Linked DNA regions of Homo sapiens: region 1 is linked to region 2. The links are contacts of gene promoters, found by promoter capture Hi-C in blood cells and fetal thymus (Javierre and others, 2016). All regions are on one chromosome and are shown on one strand. The core of a region is centred on a gene start or on the middle of the fragment in contact, and the rest is flanking DNA. Distances in the headings are between cores, read along the strand shown. Region 1 holds the start of ZNF157 (zinc finger protein 157). Region 2 holds the start of ZNF81 (zinc finger protein 81).

Evidence for each region. Contacts are between HindIII fragments. The CHiCAGO score rates a contact against its expected background, and 5 or more counts as called.
Region 1: the fragment with the promoter of ZNF157 here is called in contact with the fragment with the promoter of ZNF81 in region 2 in 1 of 17 cell types (non-activated CD4 T cells); the score reaches 6.1 in non-activated CD4 T cells.

What each region holds. Positions count from the first base shown.
Region 1 is chrX:47,369,175-47,374,989 of GRCh38, reverse strand. ZNF157 (zinc finger protein 157) reads right to left here and starts at 4,412. Exons shown (of 4, transcript NM_003446.4): 1 at 4,250-4,412. The coding sequence starts at 4,321. The HindIII fragment of the contact is 3,930 bases long and covers 933-4,862 here.
Region 2 is chrX:47,831,930-47,838,192 of GRCh38, reverse strand. ZNF81 (zinc finger protein 81) reads right to left here and starts at 1,291. Exons shown (of 5, transcript NM_007137.5): 1 at 1,206-1,291. RefSeq lists an enhancer at 1,164-1,543. The HindIII fragment of the contact is 3,931 bases long and covers 1-2,861 here.

The DNA.
Region 1 (5,815 bases), core at 3,163-5,662, 470 kb after region 2:
CCGGGCTCAGGGCTCACGCCTGTAATCCCAGAACTTTGGGAGGCTGAGGTCAGGAGCTTGAGACCAACCTGGCCAACATGGTGAAACCCCATGTCTACTAAAAATACAAAAAAATTAGCCAGGCATGGTGGCGGGTGCCTGTAATCCCAGCTACTTGGGAGGCTGAGGCAGGAGAATAGCTTGAAGCTGGGAGGCAGAGGTGGCAGTGAGCCGAGATTGCATCACTGCACTCCAGCCTGGGTGACAGATCGAGACTCCATCTCACAAAAAAAAAAAAAAAAAAAAAAGATTGCTGGGCGTGGTGGCTCACACCTGTAATCCCAGCATTTTGGGAGGCCAAGGCGGGTGGATCACCTGAGGTCAGGAGTTGGAGACCAGTCTGGCCAACATGGTGAAACGCTGTCTGTACTAAAAATACAAAAAATTAGCAGGGTATGGTGTTGGGTGCCTGTAATCCCAGCTACTCAGGAGGCTAAGGCATGAGAATCGCTTGGGCCGGGGAGGCAGAGGTTGCAGTGAGCCAAGATCACATCACTGCACTCCAGCCTGGGTGATAGAGTGAGACTCTGTCTCAAAAAAAAAAAAAAAAAAAGATTGTCTATTAATTCTGTTCTATATGCACTTGGCATACAATCCCACAATTGTTCTCACATGCATTTACCCCACTGTGTAGGAGTAGAAATACAAACACAGTTTCTCCTACTAGACTCTCATAACATGCTGTGACAACAGATGAGTGAGGGATTTTCCTCACACATCAAGCAAGAGGTCAATTCTGCAGTAGACAACAGCTGGGTGTCCTCCAATTCAATTCCATTCTGACACTATCTGCCAGGATATAGCATCAGGTCCCACAGGTTGAGGGCTCAGTTCTGAAGACTACCCCCACTTCAGACTCCAGAGCTTCGTACTGACCAGCTACAAGTCAAGCTTCCCACAATCCCCTCCTAGGGTTCAATTAATTTGCTAGAGTGGCTCATAGAACTCAAGGAAAGGCTGGGAGTAGTGGCTCATGCCTGTAATGCCAGCACTTTGGGAGGCTAAGGAGAGAGAATTGATTGAGGCCAGGAGTTCAAGACCAGCCTGGGAAACAAAGTGACACCTCATCTGTTAAAAAAAAAAAAATTTTTTTTAATTAGCCGGGCGTGGTGGCACACACCTGTGGTCCTAGCTACTTGGAAGGATCACTTGAACCCGGGAGGCTGAGGCTGCAGTAAGCAAGCTGTCACTGCACTCCAGCCTGGGCGACAGAGAGACCCTGCATTTAAAAAAAAAAAAAAAAAACTCAGGGAAATGTGGAGTCCTAATTAGGGAAAAGGAGTTGCTCCAGGACATATAAACAAAAAGAAGATGCAGATAAGTTTAAGTTATAGGTCTGTCTTTCTTTATGGCCCAGGACATATAGTCTTCTTGAGCAAATAATGTACATAACTCACAAACTTCCTGCTTATCATCAAACACTCCAATTCATCATCAAACACCTTGGCTGACAGAAGAATGCAAGTTAGCTCCCTGCTACCTTGGCGTTATCAAACAGCCCAAGAACCATCCTATAAAATCTCCAGCAAGCCTTCATTTCCTCGAAGTCAGTTCCTCTTTTGCTGATTCTACCTGTTGCTCTCTTGCAATGTATTTTCCTCCTTTCTCTAATAAATCTGCCTTTCTTTACCTACAACTGTCGTGGTAAATTCTTTTACCTGTGAGCCACCGGCCCAGACAGTGGCCGCTCACCCTCAACAGGAAACACAAAACTGACTATGTTTACTGATTTATTATAAAGGATTTTTTTTTAAGACAGAGTCTCGCTCTTTTGCCCAGGCTAGAGTGCAGTGGTGCGACCTCGGCTCACTGCAACCTCCGCCTCACAGGTTCAAGTGATTCTCCTACCTCAGCCTCCCGAGTAGCTGGATTACAGGTGCCCGCCACCACACCCAGCTAAATTTTGTATTTTTAGTAGAGATGAGGTTTTATCATGTTGGTCAGGCTAGTCTTGAACTCCTGACCTCAAGCGATCCTCCCACCTCGGCCTCCCAAAGTGCTGGAATTACAGGCATGAGCCACCGTGCCCCACCTGAGCTTTATTTTTTGTAGTAATGAGGTCTCACTTTGTTGCCCAGGCTGGTCTTGAATTCCTGAACTCAAGCAATTCTCCGGCCTCTCCCACCAATAAAGGATATTTTAAAGAATACAAATTCAGGCCGGGCATGGTGGCTCACACCAGTAATCCCAGCACTTTTGGAGGCCAAGGCAGGTGGATCACCTGAGGTCGGGAGTTTGAGACCAGCCTGACCAACATGGAGAAACCTCATCTCTACTAAAAATACAAAATTAGCTGGGCGTGGTGGCATATGCCTGTGATCCCAGCTACTTGGGAGGCTGAGGCAGGAGAATCACTTGAATCCAGGAGGTGGAGTTTGCAGTGAGCCAAGATCACGCCATTGCACTCCAGCCTGTGCAACAAGAGCGAAACTCCATCTCAAAAAAAAAAAAAAAAAGAATACAAATAAATCACAGCCAAATAAAGAGATACATAGGGCAAGGCATGTGGGAAGGGGCCTGGAGTCTTCATGCGCTCTCTGGGTGCACCACCCTCCAGGAACCCCCATGTGTTCGGCTACCCAGAAGCTCTCCAGACTTTATCCTTTTGGGGCTTTAGGGGGGCTTCATTATGTAGGCATGATTGATTAAATCATTTGCCCTTGTGGATCGACTTGACTCTCAGCACCCTCTCCCCTCCCAGGTGGTTGGAGGGTCCCAACCCTCTAAACCTACCTTAGTCTTTCTGGTGACCAGCCCCATTCGGAAGCTGCCTAGGGACTGCCAGGCATCAGTCAACTCATTAGCATACAAAAAGACACTTTAGTACTTTAGAGATTCCGAGGATATTAGGAGTTGTTTGCCAGGAAAGACCAATTATATATTTCACAGTATCACACCCCTACAAAAACCTTACACAAACTATTATAGGATCTTTATTCATAATATCCAACAACTAGAAACAACCAAGATGTCTTTCAACCAGTGAATGGTTATACTGTTTGGTACATCCATGCGATGGAAAAGTATCAGCAATAAAAGGAATGGGCAGGGCACGGTGGCTTACGCCTGTAATCCCAGCACTTTGGGAGGCTGAGGCAGGTGGATCACGAGGTCAGGAGTTCAAGACCAGCCTGGCCAACATGGTGAAACCCCGTCTCTACTAAAGATACAAAAAATTAGCCAGGTGTGGTGGCACGCACTTGTAATACCAGCTACTCGGGAGGCTGAGGCAGGAGAATAGCTTGAACCCGGGAAGCAGAGGTTGCAGTGAGCCAAGATCACGCCATTGCAGTCCAGCCTGGGTGACAGGGCAAGACTCTGTCTCAAAAAAAATGAATGAACTATTGATATACTGTTAGCTATTGATATCTCCACAGAATTTTGCTGAATGACGAAAGCCAGTCCCAAAAGGTACATACTGTACAATCTGATTAATATAACAGTCTCTCTTTTTTGTCCTTTTTTTCCTTTTTGTGGAGAACAGGGTCTCACTATATTGCCCAGGCAGGTCTCAAACTCCTAGGCTCAAACTATCCTCCTGCTTCTGCCTCCCTAAGAGCTGGGATTACAGGCATGAGCTGCCATGCCCGGCAAATAAAACTTTTTTTTTTTTTTGAGACAGGGTCTCACTCTGTCACCCAGGCAGAGTGCAGTGGCACGATCTTGGCTTACTGCAACCTCCGCCTCCAGGTTCAAGCGATTTTCCGGTCTCAACCTCCCGAGTAGCTGGGAGTACAGGTGCGTGCCACAACACCTGGTTAATTTTTGTATTTTTAGTACAAACAGGGTTTCACTATGTTGGCCAGGCTGGTCTCAAACTCCTGGCCGCAAGTGATCCACCCGCCTCGGCCTCCCAAAGTGCTGGGATTACAGGTGACAGGCGTGAGCCACCACGTCCAGCCACAACATTCTTGAAATGAAAAAATTATAGTATTGGAGAACAGATTGGTGGTGCCCCAGGGTTAAGAGGGGAGTGATGGAGGAAGTGAAGTGGTTGTGTCTATTTAATGACAACATGGGGGATCCTTGTGGGGATGGAAATGCTCTGCATGTCAATATCCTGGGTATTACGAGATGTTACTACTGGGGACAAAAACTAGGTAAATGGTACATTGCATTTGAATCTACAATTATCTCAAAATATAAATTTAACTAAAAATAAATAAAAAAATAAAGAACATATAGAAAAAAATAGGATCCTCCTCCTTACCTCAAAAGATCTGCCAGGTTCTCCTGGAATCAGGGCAGGGAATCTCTGGGGTGATGTCCCATTAGCTGGCATGTTCACCCTGGGCCTCAGCCCACCTTCCGTGCTGGACAGCTGTCTGTGTGTAGAGGGTCCTGCAGCCTCCAGTAAGGGGTAAGGCTCAATGGCTCCACAGAGACACCAAGAAATCCTAAAAGGACAGTATCCATATCATCAGTGTCATCCCACATTCACGCCACAATGTTCAGCATCCCCAGAGCATGAGTCAAGGTGGATTACAAAATGATCAAATTTGGGGCCAAATTAATGAGCTTGGGGTCCCTTCTTGAGTGGCTCTACCAGGTGCTTCACTCGCTACTCAGCCAGCCTACACCTCAGTTCAAGTTCAAGGCAGATCTGGGTTTAGGAGAAGTAGAACTGGGGCAGTGCTTAAGGGTGCTTAAGGCCCATGGGGTGGGCAGGTTCAAGGGGACCTGGTGGGTGACTGTGAGGGCAGGAAACCTGGAAAGCTGATAATCTAAATGAAAGGAAATCGGCTGGTCCTTTCTTCTGCCGTCTTTTGTTTTTTTCCACTCTTAGATGAAATATCCCTCTTAAATTCTTTTACTGGGAAGCTTTTAGCCTCTTCTTTCCAGAAAAAAATGGTTCAATCTTAATAATGTTATGTATTTTTTCTTTTTTTTTTTTTTTTTTTTGAGATGGAGTTTCACTCTTGTCACCCAGGCTGCAGTGGAATGGTGCGATCTCAGCTCACAGCAACCTCCGCCTCCCAGGTTCAAGGGATTCTCCTGCCTCAGCCTCCCTAGTGGCTGGGATTACAGGCGCCCGCCACCACGCCCAGCTAATGTTTGTATTTTTAGTAGAGACGGGTTTTCACTATGTTGGTCAGGCTGGTCTCGAACTCCTGACCTCAAGTGATCCTCCCGCCTTGGCCTCCCAAAGTGCTGGGATTACAGGTGTGAGCCACTGCACCAGGCCTAATGTTATGTATTACATCAACAAATTACAGAGGGAAACACTCTGCTGTTAACTTACACCAAAAAAGCATCCAACGCAATTCAGCAGCCATTACTAATATAAGCTCAAACTAAAATCATGGAAAAAGTAAATAACTTAAGTGCCACAAAAATCAATTATGAAACATAACTCTGAAACACCATGCTAAAAAGTAAAATGATGAAGCTATTGCCACAAAATTAGTACTGTCTGCTATAACCCAAAATTGTTTTGTGGGCTCTAGCTCACACAAGAGAAGATGAAATAGAGTGGGCTGGGCACAGTGGCTCATGCCTGTAATCTCAGAACTTTGGGAGGCCAAGACAGGAGGGTTGCTTGAGTCCAGGAGTTCGAAACCAGCCTTGGCAACAAAGTGAGACGCTGTCTTTACAAGAAATAAAATAATCCGAGTGTGGTGGTCCACACCTGTAGTGCCAGCTACTAAGGAAGCTGAAGCAGAAGGATAGCTTAAGAAGCCTGAGAGGTTGAGGCTGCAGTGACCTCTGATGGCGCCACTGCACTCCAGCCTGGGTGACAGAGCAAGACTTTGTCTCTAAAAGAGAAAGAAAAAGA
Region 2 (6,263 bases), core at 42-2,541:
ATTGAGCTCAGCAAGATTGCAGGATACAAGACCAACAGACAAAACTCAATTGTATTCCTATATATAAGCAACAATTTAAAAGATAACACCATTTATGACCACTCCAAAACAATTAAATACTTAGGTATAAATTGAATAAGACATGTACAGAACTTGGGTGATGAAAATTAAAATACACCATTTATAGAAATTTTAAAAGATCTAAATAAATAGAGAGACATACTATGTATATGGATTGGAAGACTTGGCACAGTTAAGACTTAACTTCTTCCCGAGTTGGTATACAGGTTTAATGCAATTCCTATCAAAATCCAAGCAAGATGCTTTGTAGATAGAGACAAGATTTTCTAAAATGCATATAGGAAAGGCAAGGGAACCAGAGGCATTAAAACAATTTTGAAAAAGAATAAAGTGAGAGGAATCACTCTATCCAATTCAAGACAGCAAGGTAGTACTGGCAGAGGGATAGACACATAGACAATGAACTGAATAGCAAACCCAGAAAGAGCCCACACACAAGTATGGCCAACTTATTTTTGACAATGGTGAAAGACAAGTCAATGGAGGAAAGATAGTCTTTTCAACAAATGGTGCTTCAGTCTGGACATCCATAAGCAAATTAATGCACCTCGACCTAAGTCTCATACTTTATACAAAAAGTAACTCACAGAGGATCACAGACAGCAGTAAGGAGACACAGACAAATCACCATCACAGTGGAGAATTTCTCTCTCCTCGAAGTAATAGAAGAAGCAGACAAAAAAGGATAGATTTTCTATGACACAATTGACGACTAAATAATTAAATATTATTTTCAAGTTATATATAGAACGTTTCTAAAAATTCACCACGGACTAGGCCATAAGTCTCCTTATATTTCAAGGAATGAGCTTCACGTAGATATTTTTCTAACACAGAAAACTAAGGTTAGAGATCCATTACAGAGATAAACTTTTGCACACTGAAACCCCACTTTTGAATAACTCCCGGGTAAAAGACAAATGAATACAAGTTAACACTCTTAAAAAACATAATGCTCCAAACCCAATGGGGCTTAGAATGAACTTTAAGACCTTAACGGTGATGTTAGAAAAGAGAAAAGCCTGCAAAATGATGAGTGAATCATCCAACTCAAGTTAGATAAACGATTCCATCACTGGCCACACAGAATCGCCCAGCACTCACCCTCCCCGGCCCCCCATCACCTCCACATCCCTGGGCACTGAACGTCGAATCCTCCTGACAACTATCAAACCCCGGCTGAGAACCGGCGAGAACCGCAGCCGCTTCCGGTCACTACCCCTAGCACCGCCCTTTTTCGGGGTTTGGGACTTCACATGAATGAGGGAAGCGGAGGTTCCGCGCGTGCGCAAAACCACCTTTGAAGCTGCTGTTAGCCAGGAGTCAACATGGAGAAGTTACGGAAGTGGGTGCTTTGGGACGTTCGGTACCCCTCGGCGGCGTGGTCAGGTGGGGAACATGGCCGCGCCCACGTCGCGCTTCCCCATGGGATACACCATGTTGGAGGAGTGTCCATCCGTATTGAGGATGAGGACACCTCTGAACTCACAGAGCAGGCTGTGAGTTTAGAGCTGTCTGCTCTAAACTCAGGTGGAGCTGTCCCGCTGGTGGCAGGGAGCACGGGTGGGGACGTTTCTCTGGGCGGGCTAACTGGAGGAGGGGGTCTTTGGACCTGTAGTCTATGGATCTGTGTGATACCGCTCCGAGAAACTGAAGGGCCTCTTGGAAAGAATCAGGGGCGGCCGCGGCTATCTCCTGGCAGATACCACAGGATGAGAAGCGGGGAGATGTCAGGCTGGTTACAGGCTTCTCCTAGGACATACCACAAGGGGAGGAGGAGGAGGAGAAATCATGGTTATGCAAGCCCTCCTAGGATATGCCATGAGGTGGGAAAAAGGGAGAACTCAGAGTGCTGGGTTCCCCTCCTGCTGTGCCTGTGGGGCTTGGATGCGAGGTTTGAATGCTGCAGCAATTTACCTTATCTCCCACTCCATCTACCCCAGCTAAAAAGGGACTACGTAGTACCAATACTAATAATTTTTAATGTGTCCTTAGTCCAATGCAATATGTCAATAAAAATCTTTAGGAAACTTTATTATTTTTATTTCCTCATGAAGTAAAATATATGTGGTCATGGTGCCCTTACTTTGGAAATGTAGCTTTAATACAAGGCTCTGCTTCTACCCTTCAACCAGTTTGCTGCTCCATATCACCTCCAATGTGTAAATTCTGGAGATGCCCCTGCCCTCTGGGAGATGTCACTGGAGCAGAAGGGGAAGAAGTCGTGCAGTCCTTCACCTAAGAATGCCTATTCATCCTTCAAAATCAAGTTCAAATATCTCCTCCTCCAGAGAATCCTGACAGAGCTAGAAGCCTGTGTGCCCTCCTGAAAGCCTTTCTGAATCCTCAGGTGAAAAAAATATTTTGAGAGGACCTGGTGTAGGCTGAAGTGTGGACTTGCTGGGGGCTCTCAATCCAGTCTTATCCCCTCTGGCCCTCGGTTTAACAATCTCGAAGGTTAGAGGTGTCCTAGTCCAATTAGCCTCAAACTAATTTTTAGTCTGACAGATCCAGCAATCAATAAGGGAGACTGCACACCAGGGGCACCATGGGCAGCTCACTAAGCAAAGGAAAAGATAGAGTTCTTATAGGATTTTGAGGAATAGTGGAGTTCAGATGAAATTAAATGAAGCAGTGTTTTAGTGGGCTCAAAGGAAAGCAGGGCTGTATGTAAAGGGTAATTGTCAGGTCTGGACTGTGAAGTGAACCCAGAGTGCTGTTTCCTTGGAAACAATTTAGATGTAGAATTTTGTGTCCCCAGATAACTCTTGCCTAAAGCTTTGCACCTGGGTTGAAAATTGAATCTTGCTTCTCTGTCTGGAAGTGACTTAGAATCTCCCATGAGAATCAGATGTTTCCCTCTTACTGATATCATTTCAAACAGCAAAGTTTCTGATAGTCTATGATTGTAGAGAACAAAGTTTCTCATTGACCAAGAAAGCAATAGGCACTTAAAGTAGGGGTTCTTTATGGCATTACAACTGCAGCCTGTCCTTAGAAGAAATAATGTTTCCTGTGAATTTTGCATTTGGCTTTATATGTGTCTGTTCTTCCATCCTGATGAATAGCAAGGCAGATTTTTATAGTCCGATTTTCATTTTAATTTTTTTAGAGAGTTGGTATCTTTGTCCATTTTCTGCTACTGTAACAGAATATCACAGATTGGGTAATTTATAAAGAAAATAAGCTTATTTGGCTCATAGTTCTGGAGATTGGGAAGTCCAACTTGGTGCCAGCATCTGGTGAGGGCCTTATTGCTGCATTATTCCATGGCAGAGGACAAGAGGGCAAGCAAGTGTATGAACAAAGAGAAAGCACAAGGGACTGGGCTCACTTTATAACAACCCACTCTTGAGGTGACTAACCCATTCCCTCAGTGACAGCATTAATCAGTTTATGAGAATGGAGCCTCCATGACCTATTCACTTTTTAAAGGCCCCACCTCCTAATACTGTTACAATGGCAATTTCAATATGAGTTTCAGAGGAGACAAACATTTGAACCATAGCAGTTGAACTTTGATTATCCCAGCTTGTCATTCTGCCCCTGCATCCCTGGTCTGGGCAAATGTTTGTTGAATGAATAAATGAAAGAAGAATGGAATCAGTGGAAGCATATTTGGCATGCATACACTTCTAATAGAGTGCCAAGAATCACTGTTAGTGTTCTTGGATGTCATAATAGTACCAAAAAAAAAAAAAAAAGAAAGTTCTGTTAGACCACTTCAGAGAAGAAGGAGATATAGAGCCAGCAAACATATAAAGAGATGTTCAAAGTCATTTGTGATAAGGGAAATACAAATCAAGACATGATAAAAATGACATTTTATACCCATTCAAATTGCAAAAACATAAAAGTCTGACAATACCAAGAGTTGGAGAGTATGTGGGCCAACAGGATCTTTTTGCCCTGTTGAAGGAATGTAAATCAGTGCAACCACTTTAGAAAATATTTTTGCATTTTCTCCTACAGTGAATATATACATACCTTAACAATCCAGTGAGTCCACTCTCATGAATGTAACCAAGAGAAACACTTGCACAAGAAACCTAGGATATGCATGTTTCTTAGTCTGTTTTCTGTTGCTTACAACAGAATACCTGAAACTGGGTAATTTCTAAAGAAAAGGAATTTATTTCTTACAGTTACGGAGGCTGAGAAGTCCAAGGTTGAAGGGCAATAACTGGTGAGGGCCTTCTTTCTGGTAGGGACTTTCTGCAGAGTCCCAAGGTAGCACAGGGTATCACACAGTGAAGGGGCTGAGCATGCTAGCTGAGGTCGCTCCTCCTTTTTTTTTTGAGACGGATTCTTTCTCTGTCGCCCAGGCTAGAGTCCAGTGGTGCGATCTCGGCTGCCTGCAACCTCTGCCTCCCGGGTTCAAGCGATTCTCCTGCCTCAGCCTCCTGATTATAGGCGCGCGCCACCACGCCCAGCTAATTTTTGTATTTTTAGTAGAGACAGGGTTTCACCATGTTGGTCAGGCTGGTCTCGAACTCCTGACCTTGTGCTGGGATTACAGGCATGAGCCATTGCACCTGGCCTCTCTTCCTCTTCTTATAAAGTCACTAGTTCCACTCCCATGGTAACTCATTAATGGGGTAATCCATTCATGAGGGCAGGGCAGAGACCTCAACACTCAATCACCTCTTGAAGGCCCTACTTCTCAATACTGCTACATTGGGGATAAATTTCAACATGAGTTTTGGAGGGGACAAATATTCAAGCCATACCAGCATGGCATCCTGTTCACAACAGCAAAACCTGGAAAAAAAAATGGATGCTCATCAACAGGAGTCATAATGAATGAACTAGAACAACACCCAACAATATGGATGAATATTAAGGGGGAGGAACTGTAATCCCAAAAGATTATATAAAGCATAACACACTTTTATAAACTTAAAAGCTACTAATATAGGCTGGGCACAGTGGCTCATGCCTGTAATCTCAGCACTTTGGGAGGCCAAGGTGGGATGATCTCTTGAAGCCAGGAATTCAAGACCAGTGTGGGCAACAAAGTGAGATCCCCGTCCCTACAATAATTTTAAAAATTAGCCAGGTGTGGTGGTTTGTGCCTGTAATCCCAGCTACTCGGGAGGCTGAGGTGGGAGGATCCCTTGAGCCTCTTGAGGAGTTCAAGACTGCAGTGAGCTATGATAGTGCCACTGCACTCCAACCTGGGTGACAGAGCAAGACCCTGTCTCTTTAAAAAAAAAAAAAAAAAAGCTACTAATATAAAGGATATGAACTATTTAGGATTTTGTGTAGTTGCAATAAAATTACATTAAAAAGAAATTTAAAAACGACGAACTTGGGATTCAGGATGATATTTACCTCAGTTGAGGGTGGGGGCAAGGCAACAAATTGGGGGACTCCATGGATAGATAGAGGTTATCATCAAGTCCGTACCTTTTCTTTTGGGTGGTAGGTGCATATATTCATTCATTCATTCATTCATTTTAGAGACTGAGTCTCACTCTGCACCCAGGCTGGGGTGCAGTGGCACGATCATAGCTAATTATATTATTAAAAGTAACTACATATTTAAATTAATTGGGAAAATTAAGATGTTAGATAATGTGATAGTTAATACTGAGTGTCAACTTGATTGGATTGAAGGATGCAAAGTATTGATCCTGTGTGTGTGTGTGAGGGTGTTGCCAAAGGAGATTAACATTTGAGTCAGTGGGCTGGGAAAGGCAGGCCCACCCTTAATCTGGGTGGGCACCATCTAATCAGCTGCCAGCGCAGCCAGGATATAAAGCAGGTAGAAAAACGTGAAGAGGCTAGACTGGCTTAGCTTCCTAGCCTACATCTTTCACCCCTGCTGGATGCTTCCTGCCCTCAAACATCGGACTCCAAGTTCTTCAGCTTTGGGGACTCGGACTGGCTTCCTTGCTCCTCAGCTTGCAGATGGCCTATTGTGGGACCTTGTGACTGTGTGAGTTAATACTGCTTAATAAACTCATATATATATCACCTACTAGTTCTGTCCCTCTAGAGAACCCTGACTAATACAGATAAATATCTAACTGATAAAAAGAAAAAATCTGTATGGAGAAAAGTGGCATCTCTCCCTTTAATGGGGCAAGAAAACATTTGGCTGCAGCCCAGAGATGCCACCTAGTGGTGGGATGAACAGGGAGGCAGGTGCTCCATGGCCTTGACATTTACTGCTGCCC